4 separate regions of the Homo sapiens genome follow, and all the other regions are linked to region 1. Evidence: promoter capture Hi-C in human tissues and cell types (Jung and others, 2019). All regions are on one chromosome and are shown on one strand. Each heading gives the region's core, a stretch centred on a gene start or on the middle of the fragment in contact. The rest is flanking DNA. Distances are from core to core; before and after follow the strand shown.

What was found. Contacts are between HindIII fragments. The study calls those that stand out against the background at their distance.
Region 2: a contact is called between a fragment that was not itself captured here and the fragment with the promoter of ZNF516 in region 1, in 1 of the 25 tissues and cell types used here (aorta).
Region 3: a fragment that was not itself captured here is called in contact with the fragment with the promoter of ZNF516 in region 1 in 1 of the 25 tissues and cell types used here (lymphoblastoid cells).
Region 4: a fragment that was not itself captured here is called in contact with the fragment with the promoter of ZNF516 in region 1 in 1 of the 25 tissues and cell types used here (lymphoblastoid cells).

Annotation. Positions count from the first base shown.
Region 1 is chr18:76,493,372-76,496,817 of GRCh38, forward strand. It overlaps ZNF516 (zinc finger protein 516), which reads right to left and starts at 1,871. Exons shown (of 7, transcript NM_014643.4): 1 at 1,773-1,871. ZNF516-DT (ZNF516 divergent transcript) reads left to right here and starts at 1,968. Exons shown (of 2, transcript NR_164145.1): 1 at 1,968-2,415; 2 at 2,908-3,446. ZNF516-AS1 (ZNF516 antisense RNA 1) reads left to right here. Exons shown (of 2, transcript NR_136504.1): 2 at 1-547. RefSeq lists silencers at 901-990, 1,691-1,790, 1,921-1,980. The HindIII fragment of the contact is 9,582 bases long and covers 1-3,446 here.
Region 2 is chr18:76,949,254-76,952,447 of GRCh38, forward strand. All of the region lies in intron 27 of ZNF236 (zinc finger protein 236), which reads left to right. Among named protein-coding and RNA genes, the nearest start is that of MBP-AS1, 30 kb to the right of the region's middle. The HindIII fragment of the contact is 4,351 bases long and covers 1-3,194 here.
Region 3 is chr18:76,925,500-76,928,836 of GRCh38, forward strand. ZNF236 (zinc finger protein 236) reads left to right here. Exons shown (of 31, transcript NM_001306089.2): 22 at 1-55; 23 at 1,538-1,683; 24 at 1,778-2,018; 25 at 2,428-2,607. Among named protein-coding and RNA genes, the nearest start is that of MBP-AS1, 53 kb to the right of the region's middle. The HindIII fragment of the contact is 3,112 bases long and covers 1-2,916 here.
Region 4 is chr18:76,977,687-76,980,964 of GRCh38, forward strand. It overlaps MBP (myelin basic protein), which reads right to left. Exons shown (of 9, transcript NM_001025101.2): 9 at 1,147-2,785. The coding sequence ends at 2,741. It overlaps MBP-AS1 (MBP antisense RNA 1), which reads left to right and starts at 2,743. Exons shown (of 3, transcript XR_935667.3): 1 at 2,743-3,278. The HindIII fragment of the contact is 4,702 bases long and covers 1-3,278 here.

The DNA.
Region 1 (3,446 bases), core at 621-3,120:
TCTACACCGAAAAGGGACTTTGACCTTCCATTGATCTCGAAATTCAAAAACGTTTCTTCACAGGTCAGATTGTAACAAACACTCGTTCCTAATTTATGAACTCGCCGTTTTGATTTTATTATTTAAGCATGCGCCAGCAATCGTGTTTCCTTAAGAAAGAACTGACCTATTTTTGGCTGGAGATAAACGATCATGTTAACAGATGTTAATCTTGTAATCTGTTTTTCCTGTAAGCACTTTACCTAGCCGGGTTTCAGACCTTAAAAATAACATCTTTTCCAAAAAGACCTGACGTCACAATTCACTCCCTGAAAAATCACACTCCCCCTCCAGTTTCTTCCCCTGCAATGATTTCAAAGACATTAAATCTTTTCCACTTTATAAATGCTGATCTGTTCTGCCTCTACTCCCACAGGCTCTTATTTGCATTTCAAATTCCACAGGTTACACCAGTCGCCTTTTCAAAAAATGTAAACCAACAATGCAGCAGCAAATGGCTTTTTGTGCATCTGGATTAAATAAAGCACAGAATGAATATATTTAAAAAGAGGGCTGCGCAAGTTGATCTTTGCACACCCGGAGACCCGGTGACTCTTTATCAGCGGAATGAGTAAGACACACACACAGCCCCCAGAGCTCCCGGTCTGCTGCGGGAAGCTTATTAACGCTGATAATAGATGAGGCTGACTTACAGACCCACATTTTTCGGGTAAAAGGCTGGTTCCCTCTGGTCCCTAATTGCGGGGGTCCACTGGCTTTCCTCACCACACACATAAACTGCTGCTTTTAAATACCCCACTCGGCTGCCATTTAACAAACTTATTCATACAAAGTTTCGTTAAAACTTGAGGCGGTTTAATCTAAATACTGATCGTAACTATTCAGTCTGTTAGTTCTCCCTGGAAATGGCAGCGGAGGCGCCTCCCCCCACCTCCCGCCCAACCACACACACCCCACCGCATTCTTCCTTCATACACCCGGGTTCATCTCGCCACCGAGGCCTCCCCCACCCGCACCCGGCGGGGCGCAGCTCCGAGGAGTCCCTGCCCACCCCTCTCCGAGTCGGTGCCAGACCCTCGCCCCCACCCCCACCCCCGCCCGAACTTCCCTTCCAGGACCTCTCACTTCTTTAACGTTAGGGTCACTTAGAAGCTCCCAGCAGACTGGCAAGCAGCCGGGGAGGGGGCCGTAAAAAACAAGGCCACCCCCACCTCCACGCAAACACGTCCCCTAGGCAGCAGCGCGCGGTGCCCACAGGCATCGATCCCATCCGCCAAACCCTTAATAATTGAAGCGGCTCCTCGGGCCCGCAGCCCCATCACCCACCTTCATTAGCCGGAGCGTTTTACTTTAAAGTAAGGCAATTTGCTCTTTGTCTCCTAATGGATGGAGAGCGCATCCGAGCTCCCCTCCTCCCGCGTCGCCTTTGACAAAGTGTACAAAGCCAGAGCCTCTTCCGCGCTCCCACCCCGGCCCCCACCCCGCCCCTCCACTGCGGTAAAAACCACCTCCCGGGCGCTCGCCCCGCCGCCCGAAGTTGCATCTTCCCCTATCCTGGAATTGACGAGCAGAGCAACTACCCACCGGGAAAGCCAAGTAGCCCTCCCCGCGCCCGGGGGGCCCCTCCCCGGCGCACCCCCCTCCCCAGCGCCTCCCCCCCTACCCCCAGCGGCGCACACCAGAGTACGGGGCACGTCGGGGCTCCGGGCCCCGCGCCCACCGCCCGCCCGCGGCCCCTGCGGCGCAGCCCTCCCCCCGCCCGCGGCCCCTACCTTGGCAGGGAGGCGGCGGGCCTGGGGAGGAGGACGCGCACGCCCCGCGCATCTGAAGGTGAAGCCGAGCGCCCGCGGCGCGGAGCCGAGCGCTGCACTAGACCGACCGCGCCAGCTGCGCCCGGGCGCGGGGGACGCGCGAGGGCGCGCGGGGCCCGCCACGCGCCCGGCCCCCTCCTCGCGCCGCCCGCGCGCGCCCCGGACGCGTCCGCCCCGCGGGGGCCCCGGCGCGAGCCGGGCTCGGGGGGCTGCGCGGCACGGGGAGGGGGCCGGGCGCTCACGGCCCGGCGCAGGCCGGAGGCTTCCCCCAGCCTGGAAATGGTCTGCCCTGTAGGAAACGCACACTCCACTATTGTCTCATCAGCACAAAGTTCTGCCACACTGAGGGGACAGTCTGGAGGCTTGCAGTGACTCAGACACAGCCAATTCCTCCCCTAATAGCACTGAATCACGGTTCCAGCGGCCAGTGGTCGCCCCTCGTCAAGGTCTAAGGCTGCTGCAGCCCCGGCTCCCGGAGGCCGTTTCCGCGCGCACACGCGCATCCATACGTACAGACGTGCTCGGGATGCGGGTCCCGCCGGCGGGTACCTGGGCACTGCGCCCCATCTGGACTGAAATGGGGACACCCCTTCGGGGGTCCCAGGTGCGTGTGCATTACACACGGCGTAGCGTGTGCGTGTCACTCAACTTCCTGGTAAATGCCTCTGGGGGTGTTCAGATGCAGGATCAATACATTAAGTCCTGAATCAAGGGTCACAGAGGTCCCGCTGGAAAGACTTCAAACAGCGGCTCTGCCACCCGGCCATTTAAAAATGAAGGGGTTGTTTACCGGTAGCCTCGAAAGTTCAACTCTTATTTTTCTGTTCTTAAAACTTCATTTCTTCACCTCACCTACTCCCCACGAGCAGTAGTTAGTTGTAATAAGTTGAGTCTGGGACTAGAAATCCTAATTTGACTCCAAAACGCTCTCCTGTTACAGGGCAGGGATGGCCGGGGTGGGGGAGGGGAGGGCGGGCGCGCGGGGGCGGGGGAGGGGCGGGTCGGAGCTAGCGAGGGCGAGCGCCCCTTCACGGCCGGTGACGTAGACCCGGGGAGCTGCGGCCTGCGGAGGGGTAACACTATCTTCTCCCACCAGGCTCCTGGCCGTATTGTTCTCCTTCTCCTCGTGATAACTCCGCAGTGGAGGTGGATTCCGTCCAAGACGCCCAACGTGGCTCCGCGTAGCAATCAGCGCTGCAATCCTGGCGGTTACCTCAGCGGCGGCGTCTCTCTCTGCGCCTCACACTCGCAGCCCGCGGCCCTCCCCAACTTAGGGCGTTTACAAAAGAAACTACTCCAGACGCGCTGCAAAGGGAGGCGCATGTGCCCGAAAGCTGGCGATCAGACGGGGGGGGCATTCTGCATGTGTGATGTTTCTGGGGGCGGTGGGGAGTGTGTGTCGGGGTCGGGGGGCGGGGGGGAGTCAGGCAGAAAGACAGGGACAACCTCCGCTATGAAGGATCCGCGAGTCCTCAAATGTAAGCTCCGTGTGACTAACGACCTGCACTGATTTGGAGAGCGGGCATGTTAAAGGTCACGGACAATTGTTGCTGGCTTCAGCATGAATGCCTAAGTGGGATGTATTCTTCAGCAATCACGTTTAAGTCTGATTCACCGAAAAGTATTGACGTGCCC
Region 2 (3,194 bases), core at 307-2,806, 460 kb after region 1:
AACATTATGATTTTAGCATTTGGTTTAATATAGGTAGAAGAATAATGTTTGTAGAGTAATCCTATGTTAAGATTAGTTTGAAATGTCTCCACTGAAGTGATATATTCCGTTTTAACTTCCATATTCCATTAGATGGAAATGAGAGAAACCAAATATTAAAACTTGGTCTAGCTTGTAATTTTTTTCAAAATTTGACAGATTAAATATAAAAATGAGGTAGATAACCAATCTGTATGAGTGAATACAGGCATACCTCAGAGATAACATGCATTCAGTTCTAGAGCACTGCAATAAAGCGATTATCACAACAAAGTCATACATTAACATTATGATTTAGTTTTCTGGTTTCCCAGGGCATATGATGTTTATACTATACTGTAATAATAGTGTTCAGCAGCATTATTTCTCTTTTTTTTTTTTTTTGAGACAGAGTCTTGCTCTGTTGCCCAGGCTAGAGTGCAGTGGTGCAATCTCAGCTCACTGCAACCTCCGCCTCCTGGGTTCAAGTGATTCTCCTGCCTCAGCCTCCCAAGTAGCTGGAATCACAGGTGTGCACCACCACACCTGGCTAATTTTTGTATTTTTAGTAGAGATGGGATTTTGCCATGTTGCCAGGCTGGTCTCAAACTCCTGAGCTCAAGTGATCGCCCACCTCAGCCTCCCACAGTGCTGGGATTACAGGCATGAGCCACTGTGCCTGACCAGCATTACGTTTTTTTTTTAAATGTACATACCTTAATTTAAAAATACCTTATTGCTAAAAATGCTAACGATCACCTGAGCCTTCAGTGAGTTGTAATCTTTTTGCTGGTTGAGGGTCTTGCCTTGATGTTGATGGCTGCTGACTGATCAAGGTGGTGGTTGTTGAAGTTTGGGGTGGCCGTGACGATTTCTTAAAATAAGACAACAGTGAAGTTTGCTGCGTTGATTCTTCCTTTCATGAAAGATTTCCCCATAGCATGCAATGATGTTTGATAGCATTTTACGCAAAGTAGAACCTCTTTCAAAATTGGAGTCCATCTCTCAAAGCCCACTGCTGCTTTACTAAGTTTCTGTAATCTTTTAAATCTTTTGTTGTAATTTCAACAATGTTCACCGCATCATCACCAGGAGTAGATTCCGTCTCAAGTAACTGCTTTCTTTGCTCATCCATAAGAAGCAACTCCTTGTCTGCTCAAGTTATATATACCTTTAGATCCCTATCTGCTCAGTTATATATACCATGAGATCCTTATCTGCTCAGTTATATATACCATGAGATCCTTATCTGCTGAGTTATATATACCATGAGATTGCAGCAATTCAGTCATCTTCAGGCTCCATTTCTAATTCTGTTGCCCATTCCTCCACATCTGTAGTTACTTCTTCTGCTGAAGTCTTGAACCTCTCAAAGTCATCCATGAGGGCTGGAATCAACTTCTTCCAAACTCCTGTTAATGTTGATATTTTGACTTCCTCCCATGAATCACAAATGTTCTTAATGGCATATAGAGTGGTGAATCCTTTCCACAGATTTTCACTTTACTTTGCCCAGATCCATCATAGGAATCACTATCTATGTCGGCTACAGCCTTATGAGATGTATTTCTTAGTAAGACTTGAAAGTTGAAATTACTCCTTCATCCATGGGCTACAGTGTGGATGTCATGTTAGCAGACATGAAAGCAACATTCATCTCTTTGTACATCTCCATCACAGCTCTTGGGTGACCAGGTGCATTGTCAATGAGCAGGAATATTTTGAAAGGAATCATTTTTTCTGACCAGTAGGTCTCAGCAGTGGGCTTAAAATATTCAGCAAATCATGCTGTAAACAGACGTGCTGTCATTCAGGCTTTATTGTTTCATTTGTAGAGCACAGAAAGAATGGATTTAGCATCATTCTTAAGGGCCTTAGGATTTTTGGAATGGTAAATGAGCATTGGCTTCAACTTAAAGTCACTAGCTGCACTAGCCCCTCACAAGAGAGTCAGCCTGTCCTTTGAAGCCAGACACTGACTTTTCTGTAGCTATGAAAGTCCTAGAGCCATCTTCTTCCACTATAAAGCTGTTCTGTTTACACTGAAAATCTGTTGTTTAATGGAGTGACCTTCATCGATGCTCTTGGCTAGATGTTCTGGAGAACTTGCTGCAGCTTCTCCAGCAACACTTGCTGCTTCACCTTGCACTGCTATGTTATGGAGGGTGGCTTCTTTCCTTAGTTCTCATGGATTGACCTCTGCTAGTTTCCAGCTTTTCTTCTGCAGCTCCCTCACCTCTCGGCCTTCATAACATGGAAGAGAGTTAGAGTCTTGCTCTGGATTAGGCTTTGGCTTAAGCGAGGATTGTGGCTGTTTTGATCTGTCTAGGCCATTAAAACTTTCTGCTTATCAGCAACAGTGCAGTTTCACTTTCTTATCATTCATGGGCTCACTGGATAACACTTTTAATTTCCTTCAAGAACCTTTCCTTCATTTCACAAGTTGGCTAATAGTTTGACACAAGAGGCTGAGCTTTCAGCCTGTCTCAGCTCTCTGCGTGCCTTCCTCATTAAGCTTAATCATTTCTAGGTTTTGAAGTGAGGGATGTGTGACTCTTCGTTTCACTTGAACACTTACAGGCATTGTGGGATCATTAATTGGCCTCATTTTAGTATTGTTGTGTCTCAGAGAATAGGGAGGCCCAAGGAGAGGTGGGATGGCCAGTTGGTGAAGCAGTCAGACACAAACATTTATAGGTTAAGTTTGCCATTTTATGTGGGTGGGGTTTGTGGTGCCTCAACACAATTACAATAGTAACATCAAAGATCGCTAATCACAGATCACTGTAATAGATACGCTGTAATGAAAAAGTTTGAAATATTGCGAGAATTACCAAAATGTGACACACACACGAACTGAGCATGTGCCGTTGGAAAAATGGCACCAGTAGACTTGCTCGAAGCAGCCTCGCCACAAACTTTCAATTTGTAAAAACGACAGGATATCTATGGAGGACAAAAAAAGCAAAGTTCAATGAAAACAAGGTATGCCTATAATTAGTAAGAGAAATTCTCTTAGATGTTTTCTGTAAATTTCCCTTGTTAGGTTGTAGCACTGTTTGCCAACATTAATTGGTTTTAATCATGGTCTAATTTCATCCTAATGCTTTCTTGTCACAGATGGAATGCACATTGACGCTTCCAGGCTCTGACCTGGGCTCTGACCAGGGACTTGA
Region 3 (3,337 bases), core at 111-2,610, 430 kb after region 1:
AATCTGCTGCAACCAGGACTGGTGGGCCAAGCTATTCTCCCTGCCTCTGTGTCAGGTAAACGCTGAGCCGAGGGAATGAGAGCAGCACAGTGATTGAACTGTTCTGTGCTGCTTCTGTCTGTTCCCACGACAGAAGAGATGTTGTTTACCGTAGCACCACGTTTCCCTTCTTTGAGCCTTTTCCTTATAAGGCATTCGGAAAAATTGGAATTCCGTCTTGCAGACATTGCTCCTTTCCATTTCGCATTCTGTCTTCCATGCCAGCTGCTTTTTTACACTAAGCACTTTGTTTAGCTTTTGTTTTTAGTGGGTGTAAACCTGTTTTTACTCAGTTGGCATTCTCATAAATTTAGTAGTGAGAAGTGTAATTTATAAATACTCAATAGCATTGTTTTTGATATAGTGCAGTTTTCCAGTTGTTCTTGCGTCTCATAGTGCTTGAGAAGTGTTACATTTTAGCTAGTTGTGTTGATTTGTGTGCCTGTGAGTAAATGCAGCCGTTGTACATGGCAGTCAGATGTCCTGTGTGCCCTTCTTTCTGTTTCTGTGACTCGTGGCAGGATTGCAGCCTGACCACCACTCAGTAGTAGTGGTTGTTTTGAACCTTTGGCTAATCAGTAGAATCTTTTTGAGCTACTTTTCTGATACGTTTAAAGTGGGCAATATGAGTATCCATTTCACAGAGTTCTGGGGTGATTAGACAGTGTGTGTGTATGGTATAAAGTGTATCTGTTTCACAGAGTTGCTCTGCGGTGATTAGACTGTATGTGGATATAGTAAAAAGTAGGTTTCTGAGGTGATGAGACAGTGTATGTGTATATGGTATAAATGAGATTTCGCGGGTGATTAGACAGTGTATGCGTATGGCATAAAGGAGTATCTGTTTTACAGAGTTGTTCTGGGGTGATTAGACAGTGTATTTGTGTATGGTATAAAGTAGGTTTCTGGGGTGATTAGACATTGTGTGTATATATGGTATAATGGGTGATTAGACAGTATATGTGCGTATATGGTAGAAAGTAGGTTTCTGGGGTAATTAGACTGTGTGTGTATATATGGTATAAAGGGTGATTAGACAGTGTGTATGATTAGACAGTGTGTGTATATATGGTATAAAGGGTGATTAGACAGTGTGTGTATATATGGTATAAAGGGTGATTAGACTGTGTGTGTATATATGGTATAAAGAGTGATTAGACTGTGTGTATGGTATAAAGGGTGATTAGACCATGTGTGTGTATGGTATAAAGGGTGATTAGACAGTGTGTGTGTATGGTATAAAGGGTGATTAGACAGTGTGTGTGTATATGGTATAAATAAGGGGTGATTAGACAGTGTGTGTATATGGTATAAAGGGTGATTAAACAGCATATATGTGTATATGGTATAAAGTAGGTGTTCGTATTCCACAACAACATTGTATTGACATAATGTGTACAACTTATGTATTTAAAAATCCCTATGTAAAAAATGAATTACTTTAGTTTTAAGAAGCATTCATAATATTTGATCATTCTCTTTCTCTTTCTCTGGCCAGCTGGGGGTGACCTGACCGTGTCTCTGACAGATGGGAGCCTGGCTACCCTAGAAGGCATCCAGTTACAGTTGGCTGCTAACTTGGTTGGACCAAATGTACAGATTTCTGGAATCGATGCTGCCAGCATTAATAACATTACGTTGCAGGTATGACACCTTCCATGGTCTCCTGTGCTGTAATTCTCTTGGCATCACAGAGAAGCATGAAGTTTTCATTACAAGTACCTGTGCTGCTTTTCAGATTGATCCAAGCATTCTGCAGCAGACGCTACAGCAGGGCAACCTATTGGCTCAGCAGCTCACGGGGGAGCCTGGCCTGGCCCCACAGAACAGCTCTCTCCAGACATCGGACAGCACGGTCCCTGCCAGTGTTGTCATCCAGCCCATCTCAGGCCTGTCCTTACAGCCCACAGTGACCTCTGCGAACCTGACCATAGGCCCGCTGTCTGAGCAGGATTCAGTGCTGACCACTAACAGCAGTGGTAAGAGCCACTCACTTTTGCTTATTTTGACAGCTGGAGTTTCAGTTTCTTGCTTGTGATTACATATTTGAATTTAGGATGTTATGATGTCATTTTCTTCTCTTTGTAGAAGAGAATAAATCAAATGTCCTGAGAATAAAATAAGCTTTTCTTACAATTAATGATATGTATTTAATATATGCTCTTAGATTATTACTACCTTCATTTAATTACTCTTTTCATCCTGGCTTCATTTCCTCACAAGGCTTTCTTCTTAGACGAAGGAATTAGAGATGACTGATGCTTTGTTTTAAATCTTTGTCTTATTGAAATATGTAATAACAGTTTAATTAAAATATTTTTAATATAAAAACAGGGGAAATTGGTTATTTTGAATCTCAACTTTGTTTTGCTTTGTAATGACAATCAGGGACCCAAGACCTCACTCAAGTGATGACTTCGCAAGGTCTAGTGTCCCCCTCCGGCGGTCCCCACGAGATCACCCTGACCATTAACAACTCCAGCCTGAGCCAGGTCCTGGCACAGGCCGCTGGGCCCACTGCCACGTCTTCCTCGGGGTCTCCACAGGAAATTACCCTGACTATCTCCGGTTAGTAAGTTATAATTTTAAACATCTTTTCACCCTGCAATTTAAGTACTGTATATCTTACTATCTCTTTTCCTACAATACTCTGCTGTGCATAAAGCCCGTGCTCAATATGTATTTATAATTTATGGGAGAAATTGAAGTTTAGTGAAAATAATGTATTCTAATTCAGATCTGGCACCAGAAATGAAAAATTATAGTTTCTCATGTCACTTCCAGTTTGAGTACAGTCAGTTATTTAATTATTTCATTCATTGACTCATTTTTAGAGAATAAGTTATTTTTGTTTAGCAAACAGCAGAAAGCGTAGCTTTGTGGTTCTCACTCATGCTCCATGAAACTGGTATAAACTGTTTACATTAGGGCATTTTAGATCCGCATGGCACTCTCTTTACCGTATGTCTTCAGAATTCTATTAGGATTATATAGGAAAATTGAAACATAGGAGAACATTGAAAAGTAGATAAACGGGTAGGAAATACCCTTTGGCAGTAAAGCCCACCTAAAACTGGCAATCTAATTCTCTCTGCCAGTCACCAGGCTGACTCATTCCCTGTCTTAGGGCTATGCTGCTCGCATTCTGACTTTTCTCCTTGTGTGCCTTCCTTGGTCCTTACGTATCATTAATTCCCATAGTGTGTTCGGATCTCAGTGAGCATTGAACATATTTTCCTGGTGTGCTTTGCTCACGTGACTCTTAACTATAAACTCTTTGTATTACTAAGAGTCATTT
Region 4 (3,278 bases), core at 142-2,641, 480 kb after region 1:
TGTTACATTTAGACTTGCCAATGAAAAGAATACAATTTTTAAAATGTAATTATCTTTGCATGATTTTCCAAATTCCTCAGTTGGAAGGGGTCTGGGCAGAGAAGTGTAGCCAGTGAACGTGGGCTTTCTGTCTGCCACGCCTGCCAGGCGAGCTCAGGTGGCCATGCCTCCAGCCTCGGCAGTTTTTCCTGCTATTGCAATGAATGCAATCATATTCTCAAGCTTCTCACCCTGCTTATCATGCTGGAGTCTGAGGCTCTCTGACCCCCGGGAAACAGGAGCATGTAATCCTACCCTCATTCAGCATGGAAGTTCCCCTTCATAAAGGTCACAGATGCAAAGCATTTCTCACAGCTGCTGCTGAGACACGGAGGGGAACTGGTGATTCCATTAAAAGCAAAACAAAGGCTGGGTGCGGTGGCTCACGCCTGTAATCCTAGCACGTTGGGAGGCTGAGGTGGGCAGATCTGCTTGAGGTCAGGATGGGACCAGCCTGGGCAACATGGCGAGATCCCGTCTCTACAAAAAATACAAAAATTTTAGCTGGGTGTGGTGGCGTGTACCTGTAGTCCCAGCTATGTGGAAGGCTTTGGCAGGAGGATAGCTTGAGCCTGGGAGGTTAAGGCTGCAGTGAGCCAAGATTGCAGCACTGCACTCCAACCTGGGTGGCAAAGTAAGATCCTGTCTCAAAAGAAAAAGAAAAAACAAAAGAGACTTTCGTCTATCTTTTTGAAGAAAAATTCTTGTAACCAAAGGTAACTATAAGTAAAACATTGCTTCACGCTCTTTCATGCTTTCAGAGAAAAAGGTGGCAAGGGGAACACGTCCAAGACTCCTGGGTTCACATCTGCAGGGTGTGTACACTAGCCACACAGCAGAACACAGACAGACTTGGAAGCTTGTCTTCAGAGACACTAAATATTTTTTTCCTGGTGAGAGAATCAGTGCCCTAACAACTACCTCTGTTCCACTTTCTTCAGTAGCCATCGACCCTCTGATGAGGATGCCCCCTCCAACAGGCACCGCCAGGCAGCCCTGCCTGGAGACCCAGAGGCACCGAGTCACATTTGCTCTGCACACCTGGCTCTCGCTTGATGTGGGCCTGTGTGCTACAGCCCGGAACACAAAAGAAGACACCCATGCAAATACCATTAAAAGTTTATTGTTTTATTTCAATATTCAGGAACAGTGTACACTTTCCGTTCAGCCATCGTCACAGCACGTGCTGTGTGGGTGCGGCCACGTATGGATCGCAGAGCCGACCTCAGCTCAGCGACGCAGAGTGCTTCTGCTGAAAAATTTGGAGGTTTGTGTCTGGAGTTTTGTTCTTTGTAACTCTCTCATCATCGAGGCTATATATTAATAGACATGGTATTAAGCCCACACGAAACATTCAGAATTAGAATTGGATTAAGAAGACGCGTTTTGGCATCACGCTGACTACTCCTCATCTCCGTCCTCGGGGAGGGTGATGCCAGCGTGGGACTCTTTGGAAGGCCTATCAATCACAGGTGCGCTAAAATCAAAAGGTGGGTCAGTAGGTTAGGGAGGGAGGCGCGAAAGGAGATGCCAGCGGGTGTTAAGAAGGATATGGTCAGAAGAGCTCTTTGTCTCCATCCACGGGGCCGTCTGCTCAGCCCGTGTGTCTCGGTGAGTAATTCGGGAGCAGGTGCACGCCTGTGCCTACTCGCTACCACGCGTCTTCTGGGAGGAAGTGAATGAGCCGGTTATCTTCTCAGGGAGGGTTAGTGCTGGCCACTGTGCACTGCCGCTGCCAGCACGCCCGGTCACAGCCAGTGTCTATGGGCGACTGGCGCGGCTGCGAGGCTGTCTAGAGGACTCCTACCCTTCTGCTCTGAGTGCGCAAGTCTTCCTGGACTCTCCGGCTGTGGGCTGTGGTTTGGAAACGAGGTTGTTCATAGAGGCTGCTCTGGGGCCACCATGCAGGGCAACGGTGACGTCCAGAGGCCACCTGCTTGACATCTCCATCACCAAATCTCCAGGAAGACCCTGTTTCCTATGTGAGGCCATTGCCCAGCCCACGTTTGCCTCCTTTTCCTCCCTCTGCCACACGCGAATTCAGCTAATTGGGGTGTGTGGGCAGCCACGGCCTGGGGAGGTGGCCCCCTCTCTGTGCTGCCCCACGTTGGACTCTAACAGCTGCCCAGCCCGCATGTCACATACCAAAAGCTCCCACATGTAGTAAGCCACTCCTTGACTGTCTAATCCTGTTAGGAAAAATGAAGTCTACTTTAGGAGGTGAGAGAAGGACAGGAAAAAAAAACAAAGGAAGCTTGGATGTCAACAGTCCTCTCTGCCGCCCACGTCCTCTCTGTCTCTGCAGCTGTGTGCCTCCATGGCAGTGACCAGCAAAAGCGCAAGGGTGCCGCAGCCACGGCGAAAAGAAAGTCCAAGGGTGGAGGGGTGAACGTGGAGGGACGTCTGTGCACCTGGCCCCCTGAAGACCCACGTGCGTCTGGGGGCACATTGCGGGGGAAGGAACGTGATCTTCACACAGAAAGGGACAGTTTTAACCGTTTTCTGTTTTCATGTTCTCATTTAACTGTTGGCCGGAAATTGCCGGTAGGCTGCCGTGGCCTGACCCTACTACGTGCACAACTCCGCAGGCATTAGGGGAGGGGTCATCTGCTCTAATTAGGTAACAGGGGCAAGTGGGATTAAAGTTTTAAGGCAGTTATATTAAGAAGCTGAGGACAGGATTCCGGAACCAGGTGGGTTTTCAGCGTCTAGCCATGGGTGATCCAGAGCGACTATCTCTTCCTCCCTGAAAAGGAAGAGAGAGGAGTTAGGACGAGAGTGCCGCAGGGTCCTCCCACACCAGCATCCCCTCTTCTGTGGTCCCGGGTGGATGCTGAGCCATTGGGTGTCTCTCTCATCTGCTAATAGAAATGGCACCCCGGAGAGCTGGTCTTTTCATTCCATTTCTCCCGACCTCCCTCAGCAAATGCTAATTGAATTTCCAGTTCTGTGAGAGAGAACTGGAATCGGATTCCCAGGCCCCAGGGAGTGGTGCCTGGCATAACCACTGCTCTGCAAAACAACGCTGCACTTCTGTGGGTGAAAGTGCAGCCGCTCCATTGCTTTGCTTTGAATGAGCACTTTTTCTCGTCAGCTAGAGGTGCCAGGGCAGCCGAGGGGAACTGCCAGCGACAACAGGAGCAACTTCTTTTTCGGCGGGACCCTAGCACACCCCTTGCTACACGCGCCAGCAAAGAGCAAAGCCACGTGTCCATCCCTGGGGACGTCCCTCCTATGTG